Regions from separate parts of the Homo sapiens genome. Here all the other regions are linked to region 1. The links are contacts of gene promoters, found by promoter capture Hi-C in blood cells and fetal thymus (Javierre and others, 2016). All regions are on one chromosome and are shown on one strand. Each heading gives the region's core, a stretch centred on a gene start or on the middle of the fragment in contact. The rest is flanking DNA. Distances are from core to core; before and after follow the strand shown.

Evidence for each region. The method cuts DNA at HindIII sites, captures the fragments that hold promoters and counts their contacts. A CHiCAGO score of 5 or more calls a contact.
Region 2: a fragment that was not itself captured here is called in contact with the fragment with the promoter of ALOX15 in region 1 in 1 of 17 cell types (naive CD4 T cells); the score reaches 5.1 in naive CD4 T cells.
Region 3: a fragment that was not itself captured here is called in contact with the fragment with the promoter of ALOX15 in region 1 in 1 of 17 cell types (naive B cells); the score reaches 5.5 in naive B cells.

Annotation. Positions count from the first base shown.
Region 1 is chr17:4,639,814-4,643,788 of GRCh38, reverse strand. ALOX15 (arachidonate 15-lipoxygenase) reads left to right here and starts at 2,111. Exons shown (of 14, transcript NM_001140.5): 1 at 2,111-2,272. The coding sequence starts at 2,138. The HindIII fragment of the contact is 20,783 bases long and covers 1-3,975 here.
Region 2 is chr17:4,217,389-4,220,808 of GRCh38, reverse strand. The region is part of intron 3 of ANKFY1 (ankyrin repeat and FYVE domain containing 1); the gene reads left to right. Among named protein-coding and RNA genes, the nearest start is that of ANKFY1, 45 kb to the left of the region's middle. The HindIII fragment of the contact is 3,847 bases long and covers 170-3,420 here.
Region 3 is chr17:4,195,472-4,199,042 of GRCh38, reverse strand. ANKFY1 (ankyrin repeat and FYVE domain containing 1) reads left to right here. Exons shown (of 25, transcript NM_001330063.2): 8 at 1,466-1,670. Among named protein-coding and RNA genes, the nearest start is that of CYB5D2, 54 kb to the right of the region's middle. The HindIII fragment of the contact is 8,607 bases long and covers 1-3,571 here.

The sequences.
Region 1 (3,975 bases), core at 862-3,361:
AGAGGAGGGAGAAACTAGTGAATATCACTTTGTACCTTTTGAATTTTGAATCACATGAATGTACTTCCCAGTAAACAATTAAGCAGGGCCGGACATGATGGCTCATGGCTGTAATCCCAGCACTTGGGGAGGCCGAGGCAGGTGGATCACTTGAGGTCAGGAGTTCAAGACCAGCCTGGCCAACATGGTGAAACCCCATCTCGACTGAAAATACAAAAAGTAGCCGGGCATGTTGGTGGGTGCCTGTAATCCCAGCTACTCTGGAGGCTGAGGCAGGAGAATCGCTTGAACCCGGCAGGTGGAGGTTGCAGTGAGCCGAGATCACACCACTGTACTCTAGCCCGGGCAACAGAGCAAGACTCCATCTCATTAAAAAAAAAAACACCAAAAACAAAAAACAAGCAAACCAGAAAATATGCATCACAGACATATTTTCGTGGACTTCATTTGTGTTACCAGGCTGATTGTAATCCATGCCATGAAGTTTATGTTAGTATTCCCCTTTTGTTTACATTGCCTGATAATTTGTTTCCCTTTGTCTCCCCCAAGGGAAGCATTCATTTATAATGAATTTTTCAGCTCAGTGTGTTTCAGCAAACACTTATTGACACCCACAAACCCTGACACTGTGCCGTCTCCAGGGGAAACAAAAGTGAGAGTCCTGCTGGGTGTGTAGTCCCTGCCTAGGACGGGCTCACATTAGTGGGGGATACACACATACAAATGCTCACACTGCAGTATTAACTGTGCAACAGTAGAAGTGTGCGCAAGGAGAAAAGTGTTAGAAAGGAAAGCTGGGCCGGGCGCCGTGGCTCACACCTGTAATTCCAGCACTTTGGGAGACTGAGGTGGGTGGATCACAAGGTCAGGAGTTCAAGACCAGCGTGGCCAACATGGAGAAACCCCGTCTCTACTAAAAATACAAAAATTATCCAGGCATGGTGGCAGGCGCCTGTAATCCCAGCTACTCGGAAGGCTGAGGCAGAGAATTGCTTGAGCCCGGGAGGCAGAGGTTGCCGTGAGCCGAGATCGTGCCATTGCACTCCACCCTGCATTCCAGGGTGACAGAGTGAGACTCTATATCTCAAAAAAAAAAAAAAAAGGAAAGCTAATTCACTCTGGTGGGGTGGTGGGGGGTGAAAGTACCGGGTAAGACTTTCCTGAGAAACCGGAGGTGAACTAGGGTTTAGAAGCATGAATAGATGAATAGACTAATCCAGGAGCAAGTTCTTTTGAGAGAACAGCAGGTGGGGTTCTGGGGAACACATGGCTCCAGCCCAAAAAGAAACTGGAGACGAATTAGGGTTTAGAAGCATGACCAGACTAACCCAGAAGTGAGTTCTTTGAGAGAACAGCAGGGGCGGCGGGGGGAGGGGGGGTTCCGGGGAACACATGGCTCCAGCACAGGAGATGCCAGGGTGCAGTGGGATGAGAGGTGAGGAGAGCAGGTCAGGTTAGCAAGGGCATTGAATGCCAGAAACATTTGGACTTTTATTCTGCAGGCAACAGGGAGGCAGCGGCTTTTATGCTCAAAAGGAATGAGTCCCAGTGGCTGGCACAGAGAAGGCAAGTGTGCAAAGCTGGTCGAATGAATTCCGTGGCCTGAATGTACCTTCCTCAAATGCCACTGCAAACTGGGTCTCCTCGCCCACTTCACCCTCTCCTGCAATCCAACTTGTGAGGCTTGTGTGTGCGCGCGCGTGTCCTTGCGTGTGTGTGTGTGTGCACGCGTGCGTTTAGATGGAGGTTGGCTTCCCAGCCACCCAGGCTTGGCCCAAAGTCCGTGGTACACACGTGCATAACTCCTACCCCCACCTCGCCTGCCTGCTGTACCAGGCGTTGATTCCCTCTTCCTGCGTGTTTTCGGTCCAAATCCTTTTCTTTTTCTCCCTCCCGTCAAGATAGTGGTTTCCACTCCCTGCTCTCGCCAGGACACCGCCTTTTGGACTGGGGCTGAATTCTGCCCCTTGAAGCTCTGCTCCTTGGAGCTGGGGGCCCCAGCGGTAGGCGGAGTTGATTGGAGACCTGCCACCCACATTCCGACCCCAAGCGACCTCCGAGAGGGCGGGGTCTCAGGCTGGGTTATTTAGCTCGTCCACCCTTCTCCACCAGAAGGAGCGAAACATCTTTGAGCAAGATGGGTCTCTACCGCATCCGCGTGTCCACTGGGGCCTCGCTCTATGCCGGTTCCAACAACCAGGTGCAGCTGTGGCTGGTCGGCCAGCACGGGGAGGCGGCGCTCGGGAAGCGACTGTGGCCCGCACGGGGCAAGGTGAGCTCCCCAGAGCCGGGCGGGGTGGGCTGCGCCCCTGGCTCCGAGTCAGTCAAATACCGGGGAGGACATGCGCCCCCGTTGGCCTCTGGCCGATTCTCTTTGCCAAGGGCCCGCGCATTGGGCTCAAAGCGCGCGGAGGCCACGGGGGTGGGGGGCTTTAGGGCAGTCGGTGGCACACAGTAAGCGCTCAATAAATGTTGCCGCTACCCGATCTCCTTGGAATTGAGGGCATGCTCCTGTGCGCCCCTCATTGCACAAAGCTCCCTTGTCTGGAAACTCAGCAGTCACTGGAGCCGCCGTCGGTCCTCTCGCTTTCTCTATTTTAAAAACCGTTTCAACCGCTAGCGCTGTTGGATCTCTACCTTTCAGGCTTTATCACCTGGGGTGGAGTGGGTGGTGAGAGGGAAGGGATGGGGAGTCAAGACAGGAGAACGCTCTCGATTTCCCGACCCACCTCCCGTCATATCTCATGTCACATCTACCGGGTGTTCTACCCGGTCCTGTTAACTTTTTTTCTTCCGCGAAAGCCCAAATTCCCATCACTGCTCTAGCTCTCTCCCAGATCCCCAAATCCGGATGTCTGTCTCAGGGAACGTCAAAGCAACATGCCCGGATGAGGTCCTCCCCTCTCCCCACCTCCCAGCCCTCTCCTCCTGCCTCCCCCGGTGTCACCCGCGCCTCCTTCCTCTCTTCACCTCCCTCTAAACAAGAATCCGGCGCAGTCAGTTCTAGACCCTGAGCATCTCCCGCGTCCCTGCCCAATATCCGTCCCGCCCCCGACCGCCCGCGTCCTCTTGAACCTGCGGAGCCCTGCTCCCCGCACTCCACGCCCTTGCTCCGAGCTTCCGAGAAAGCGGGGCAAAGGGAGCCAGGAAGAGAGAAAATGCGCACGGAGCAGGTGGCCCCGCGACTCCATGGTGAGGGGACGGGGCACGGAAGGTGGAAAGGCGCGCTCCCTCCTCCCTTTTTTCCTCCCTATGGTGGGCAGTTGGTGACACACAGTAAAGGCTCAATAAATGTTCCCGCTACTCGATCTCCTTGGAATTAAGGGGATGCTCCTGAGCGCCCCTCATTCCACACAGCTCTGGTGCCTGGAAACTGCGGTCGCCGGAGCGGTCGTCGGTCCTCCCGGTTTCTCTATTTTAAAAGCCATTTCAAACCTCCAGCGGCCTCGCCACCTCTGCTGCAGACCTTCCAAGCCCTTCTGAAGCCGGAATGATTTCTCCCTAATTCACTCCCCCTGCTTAACACATTCGAACGGCTCCCGCTTGTTCTCGGGACCAAATCCAAAGCCCCTGGCGCCACCTTCGAGAGCCTCCGGACCTGCTGACCCCCCACACCTGGGCTCTGAGCTCCAGCTCCAAGATGCTGCTCGCCCTCCCTTCCCCGCCGCTCTCTTTCTGCGCGCCTTTCCCCTGCCTTCCCTTTCTGTCACTCTCCCTGGCTGAGCCCTCTCCGCCTCCAGGTCTCCGGGAAGGTTGTCCCCAGGCCGGTGGGGCCCCTGCAGGTCCTCAGCCTCGGGCGGGGTGGGGTGGGGGGTCGCACAGCGGGAATTGCCACCAGCGCGTCCGGGCTCCACAGCGCGCTCGTCCAGGGCGCGGCAGCGCTCAGCCCAGCGCTTGGCACAGTCAGTGACCACAGGGAGGAGAAAGTGAAGGCAGGAGCGCACCTTCCCACCTGCCGTCCCCGTCCCCTCAGAA
Region 2 (3,420 bases), core at 844-3,343, 420 kb after region 1:
TGTGGACGATTTACCCACAAGTACCCAGTTGCAGCACACACTGTCCTTCCTGATCCTTGTTCTCTGCCTACCCTTATACCACTGGCTGCTTCGTCTGAGTCACAAAGTGAATTTATTCTCAGTGTATTTTGTAGATGAGGGGAAGAGTCACGGCAGGAGTGGGAAAGCTTGTAAATCACTTGAACCTCATTTTGTTTGAAATATCAAGCCCTCCCAGGAAATCCCTACTGAAAGTAGTTTAAAAAAGTTTTTTGATAATCTAGGTTTTTGTTTATTACTTGTACAGGTCAAGATTAACCGGGCAAGTTTGCAAATAGTATTTAAGAAACTGCTACTGTAGGGAAGGTGTTTGAGGGTGTTGGTGCTGGGGATTCTCTCAGCAGATAGGAACGAGCTGTCTTCAAGATCAGGCCATGTGAGTCTAGTAGGATGTGTTTTGGGATTTTTGGTTGCTGTGGACAAATCACATGGCCTACATTTTTTTTGTTGTTCATTACGATGACTACTGAGGTATTGAACCCAATTTACAAAGCCTGCTTAGAAATTTGGCCTACTTCCAAGATCTACTATGGTGATCTTAGACAGCTTAGCTGAAGCACCTAGGTTGTTTAAATAAATCTAATTAGTTTTCTGTCTGGTGTTAAAATGTTTTCTCTTTTAAAACATTTTAAAAGTGCTACTACTGGCCGGGCAGGGTGGCTCACGCCTGTAATCCCAGCACTTTGGGAGGCCGAAGCAGGTGGATCACCTGAGGTTAGGAGTTCAAGACCAGTCTGGCTAACATGGTGAAACCCCATCTCAACTAAAAATACAAAAAAATTAGCTGGGCATGGCAGCAGGCACATGTAATCCCAGCTACGTTGGGAGTCTGAGGCAGGAGAATCTCTTGAACCCGGGAGGCAGAGGTTGCAGTGAGCTCAGATCGCGCCACTGCACTCCAGCCTGGGTGACAAGAGCAAAACTCTGTCTCAAAAAAAAGAAAAGGTGCTATTACTATATTATTCAGTGAGAGAAAAAAGAAAAACTTTAACATAGTAACTACAATATTATCATTTTAGTGTATTTCACTTTTTCTTTTTCTTTTTCTTTTTTTTTTACTTTTAATATCTGGTTGTTTTAGGAGATGGTGAATTAACCTGGTTGCAGGTAAGTCGGGGTCTTCAAGTCCACTCACTTGACATTGCCCCCTTCAAGCTGCTCCTTCCCACTCTAGTTGGAAAGGAGAGTAATCAGAGCTAATGAGCCAATTCCTAATTATGAAGTTAATAAGGTGTTCCTGGTCCTTGTTGCACCTTTCCTAGGTAATCAAGAATCAAGTACGGTTTCTGAAACCTTAGTGAGCATCAGAATCACATAGAGGACTTGTTAGGACATGTGCTGGGCCCCATCTCTGGTTTCTCATTCAGCAGGTCTGGGGTAGGACAGAGAATCAGATTTCCAATCAGTTATCAGATGAGGCTGAATCTCCTGGCCCAGGACAACACCGTGAGAATTACTTGCGTTGACCATGATTTTAAGTATTCCTCTGACCATCACTCTTCTTATTCTGACTAATCAAGAGTTAACTCTGGTTGAAATAATAGTTTAGATATTTTATACTATGATTCTCATCCCAAGCATTTCCCCAAGTTGCTGTACAGTCTTTATTTTAACTTAAAAAGATTGCACAAATAATGCATGTTCCTTAAATAAAAATAAAGCTAAAAGTAAAATTAAGCTAAAAGAAAAATTAGTTATAAATTCCACCTGGGTTGATATTTTAGTATATATCCTTCCAATCTCTTGAGAGACAGACACAGAAAAATGTGTGTCTGCCTCTCTATGTGTGTAGTGTGTAGTGTGTGTAGGTATTATATATATATGTATGCATGCATACACACACAGGTGTATCTTAACAAAAAGCAAGACCTATTTTTTTTTCTTTTTCTTTTTGAGACAGGGTCTTGCTCTGCCACCCATGCTGGAGTGCAGTGGTGCAGTCACGGCTCAGTACTGCCTCAACCTCCCGGCTCAATTTCTCTTCCCACATTGGCCCCTTGAGTAGCTGGGACTACAGACACATGCCGCCACTAATGGCATGTGCCCAGCTAATTTTTATATTTTTTGGTTTTATTTTGTTTAATTTTTTTCTTCTGTAGTTTTTGGGGAACAGGCAGTGTTTGGTTACATGGCTAAGTTCTTTAGTGGTGATTTCTGAGATTTTGGTGTAATTTTTGAATTTTTGTAAAGACAGAGGGTTTCACCATGTTGCTCACACTGGTCTTGAATTCCTGGGCTCAAGCCATCCGCCCACCTTGGCCTCCCAAAGCATTGAGATTACAGGCGTGAGCCACTGTACCCAGCCAATGAGATCTTATACAAGTATTTTTAGCCTACTTTTCAAAAAGCCTATGTAGTAAATATCTTATGTTGAATATATATCTATCTAGTTTTCATTGCATTTGTTCAGTGTGTATGTATATTGTAATTTATTTAATTAGTTCTCCATTGTTGGACTCTTACGATTTTTGTTCTAGTTCTTCATTAATAATATTGTGCTGAGCATCTTAGTACATTTTTCTTTATCTGTCCAGTTATTTTCTTTGGATAATGTCTACATATGTAGTTGCTGTGTGAAAGGTTATGTTCTTTAAAAAATCTTTGCTAGTCTGAGAGATAAAAAAATGTACTCTGATTTCAGTTTGTATTTGGTTATCAGTAAGGTTTACTAGCCATTATTTATCTTTGTGAATTACCTATTTGTATCCATTGCCCATTTTTCCATTGGGTATCCGTCTTTTTATTTTTATTTGTAAGGTCTTTTTATCATAAAGAATGTTAACTCAGGCTGGGTGAAGCGGCTCACGCCTGTAATCCTAATGCTTTAGGAGGCCGAGGCAGTTGGATTCTTTGAGCCCAGGATTTCGAGACCAGCCTGGGCAACATGGTGAAACCGTCTCTGCAAAAAATACAAAAATTAACCTGGTATGCTAGCATGCACCTGCGGTCCCAGCTACTCGGGAGGCTGAGGTGTAAGGACCACTTGAGCCCAGGGAGTTCGAGGCTTCAGTGAGGCATGATTGTGCCACTGCATTCCAGCCTGGGTGACGTAGTGAGACCCTGTCTCAAAAAGAAAAAAAAAATAATGTTAATTCTTTGTCATATGTTTCAAATATTTTCCCCAATTTATTCGACATATCTTTAGTAGGTTTATTTCCTCACTCACTGCCCACTGCGAAAGTTTAGTCAGATGTTGCCCAGACTGCTGAGTCACCTTTTTTTTGAGACGGAGTCTCCCTCTGTCACCCAGGCTGGAGTGCAGTGGCTCAATCTCTGCTCACTGCAACCTCCGTCTCCCGGGTTCAAGCGATTCTCCTGCCTCAGCCCGAGTAGCTGGGATTACAGGTGCACGCCACCAGGCCCGGCTAATTTTTTTTGTAT
Region 3 (3,571 bases), core at 356-2,855, 440 kb after region 1:
AACCACAGCTGTTGTCACCGCTCCTTGCTAAGTTTTTTTTTGTAGAGATGGGGTCTCCCCATGTTGCCAGGCTGGTCTTGAACTCTTGGGCTCAAGTGATCCTCCCACCTCGGCCTTCCAAAGACCTGGGATGTTATTCAGTCTTAATTTGATATCTGTAAATTGTCCTAGGTAGACTCTTATCTGTAATACTCCAAGAGGTAAGTCAATGGAAGGGATTTAGAAAGAAATTTTGTTTCCACAACAAGGTTATTTACCATGTGAAATTTTTGTAAATAGTAATGTGTACAGATACTCTGTTCAAATATTTCATTGTAAACTTCTTATTAAGTCAGTTATGTGTATATAATGAGATTACAAAACTAAAAAGAGGCCGGGCACGGTGGCTCACATCTGTAATCCCAGCATTTTGGGAGGCCGAGGCAGGTGGTTTTCCTGAGCTCAGGAGTTTGAGACCAGCCTGTACATCATGGTGAAACCCCGTCCCTACTAAAATACAAAAAATTAGCCAGGTGTGGTGGCACATGCCTATAGTCCCAGCTGCTTGGGAGGCTGAGACATGAGAATTGCTTGAATTTCGGAGGCGGAAGTTGCAGTGAGCTGAGATTGCACCACGGCACTCCAGCCTGGGTGACAGAGCAAGGCTCTGTCTGAAAAAAAAAAAAATCTAAAAAGAAAATAAATTTTATAATAATAAAACAGACATGGGATTACTCTGAGTAGGAACGTGAATGCAAGTACAGCAGAATGGGGGTAGGTGTTGCTTAGTTAGGTACAAGCTGTGGTCAGGAAATAAGAAAGAAAGAGAAAGAGAGAGAGAAATTGTGTAGGGAGGGATCCTGGAAACCCTTCTGAGAGATGACCGAAGGAGGCCTTTGAAGAGTAGAAGCCTAGTGTTCTTTTTTTTTTTTTTAAGACGGAGTTTTGCTCTTAATCCCCAGGCTGGAGTGCAATGATGTGGTCTCAGCTCACCGCAACCTCCACCCCCTGGGTTCAAGCGAATCTCGTGCCTCAGCCTCCCAAGTAGCTGGGATTACAGGCGTGCACCACCACGCCCGGCTAGTTTTGTATTTGTAGTAGAGACGGGGTTTTTCCCTGTTGGTCAGGCTGGTCTCCAACTCCCGACCCCAGGTGATCCGCCCACCTCGGCCTCCCAAAGTGTTGGGACGACAGGCATGAGCCACTGCGCCTGGCCCAGCCTAGTATTCTTAAACAGTGAAAGGATACTGAGGTGAGGAGGCAGGACAAGTGGTAACAGGTAACCAAAAATTGAGCAGAGCCTTTTGAATTCGTCTGTAACTCCATGATCTCAATGAGTTTCCACTTACAGATGCCCCAAGAGGTTCCTTCAGACACATCTAGTTATCGCTCTCCTTTGTCTGCAGTCATTTTCTGCTCCCTCTTGAAGAAGCACTGGCCAGAATACTTTGCCCTGACACTGTTTCTTCTATTATTTCTTTTCAAGGAGATCTCTTTGCTGCCACTTTCCTCATTAAGAATGGGGCCTTTGTCAACGCTGCTACACTGGGTGCCCAGGAGACACCACTGCACCTTGTGGCCTTGTACAGTTCAAAGAAACACTCAGCAGATGTGATGTCTGAGATGGCGCAGATTGCAGAGGCCCTTCTGCAGGCTGGTGCCAACCCCAACATGCAGGACAGCAAGGGGAGGTAAGCTGGGGAGCAGACACTGTGCCCTTAGCACTGTTCTCAGAAGATATCTTACAGTAGCATGTAATTGGCATACGGGGAGTTCATGTTCTTTAGTTTGGCATTATTCAGTCTTATTTTCATTAAAGTCACAGACATCGATGTGTAGTAGTAGTGTCACTACTAAAACCAGAGGCATTTGGGGAAAACATTTCTATCCTGGGTAACTGAAGTCTTCGAGGTTTTTTTTGTGTGTTGTTTGTTTGTTTTTAATTGTGTCAGCATCTCACTCTGTCACCCAGGCTGGAGCGCAGTGGTATGATCTTGGCTCACTGCAGCCTCTACCTCCTGAGCACAGGTGATCCTCTCACCTCAGCCTCCTGAGTAGGTGAGACTACAGGCACACGCCACCCCACTTGGCTGATTTTTGTATTTTGGTGGAGACAGGGTTTTGCCATGTTGTCCAGGCTGGCCTCGAACTCCTGAGCTCAAGCAATCTGCCCACCTCGGTCTCCCAAAGTGCTGGGATTACGGGCGTGAGCCAGTTTTCGAGCTTTTAAGCAATTTGTATCTCATGTTTGAAGGAACCAGAGTGGTCATCTAGTCCAGTGCCTCCAAGGAAACCTTGTAGCATTTCTTAGAGTTGCTTGGATAGTTTGAAGAACTATTGAGGTCTAATTGTTAGAAAATTCTAATTGTTAGAAAATTCTCTATATTAAACCCAATTTTACCTTCTCGTAAACACTCCCACTTTATCTGCACAGCTTGCTACCTTTGTCCATAGCACGGCCCTTTGCATATTTAACAATATTTATTGTGTTCATTTTGCCCCTTTCCAGAAATAGTTGAGGATTCCTTGTGGTAGGATCTGAGAAAAGGCTACTTGTCTTGGGACAGTGGTGTGAGGGGCTGTGAAGGATAGTTAAGTCACCTGAATCACTGACCACAGTTGGGACCCGCTTGTCATTAGAACATTCTCAGTATTTTATACCTTTGAAAAACCTCTCAAAAAAAAGATTTTTTGTAAAGTTTGGTTGTCAGACAGGAGAATGTATTTATGTGATAGATAAGTACGTAAATAAGATGTAGCTTCATGAAATCTCAGTATCATGTGATAATTACCTTATTTCCTAAAATAATTGCATCCCTTTCCCTGCTGTTGATTCTTTCATTTTTTTCCTCCAACGGCAATAAACTCGCAGTGTGTGTGTGTGTGTGTGTGTGTGTGTGTGTGTGTGTGTGTGTGTGTAGTAGATGCAGCCTTGGGCTCTGACTCAAAGTGTGTGTTTTTGGGGGGAGGTGGGGGGCGGGGTAGGTGCAGCCTTGGGCCCTGACTCACTGTGTGGGTGGGGGGTGGTGGGGGGGGTGGGTGGGTAGGTGCAGCCTTGGGCCCTGACTCGGGGGTGTGTGTGTGTGTGTGTTAGTGGTGGCTCTGCAGTGCCAGTCTCCTGCAGGGCTCCCGAGTGCTAAATGAAAGCAGTGAAAGGGGTTAAATGCCGCTTTCATCAGTTCTTTCCTGTTGCTGCTCTGAGTGTGTTTGAGAAGAATAGAAGATTATGGGGGAGAGTTTCCTTTTAGAATTGATGGAGAAGAGATGAGGGAAAATCTGCACACCTGTGGCAGAAACTGCTGTTCTCAAGAAAATCCTGTCTGTGCCTTCAGGAAGGGGTTGGGATTGAGTTGGGGAGTATTTGAGATCACTTCCTTGAGCTGATTCTTGTCCATTTTGGCCGCTGAATAATGGTCACATATAAGCAGATCCGTTTTCAGGTTTTGATACTGGGTCATGGTTTTAGAAGCCTTGTAGAAATGTGGGATTTCTTGCGGGTGGTGATTCTGCCTGGGATTCTGGTTGCGTCTTGCCGTGAGTCATCCTGAACAGGCCTGTCCTGAACTGACCCCTCTTCTTTTGGATCCCGCAG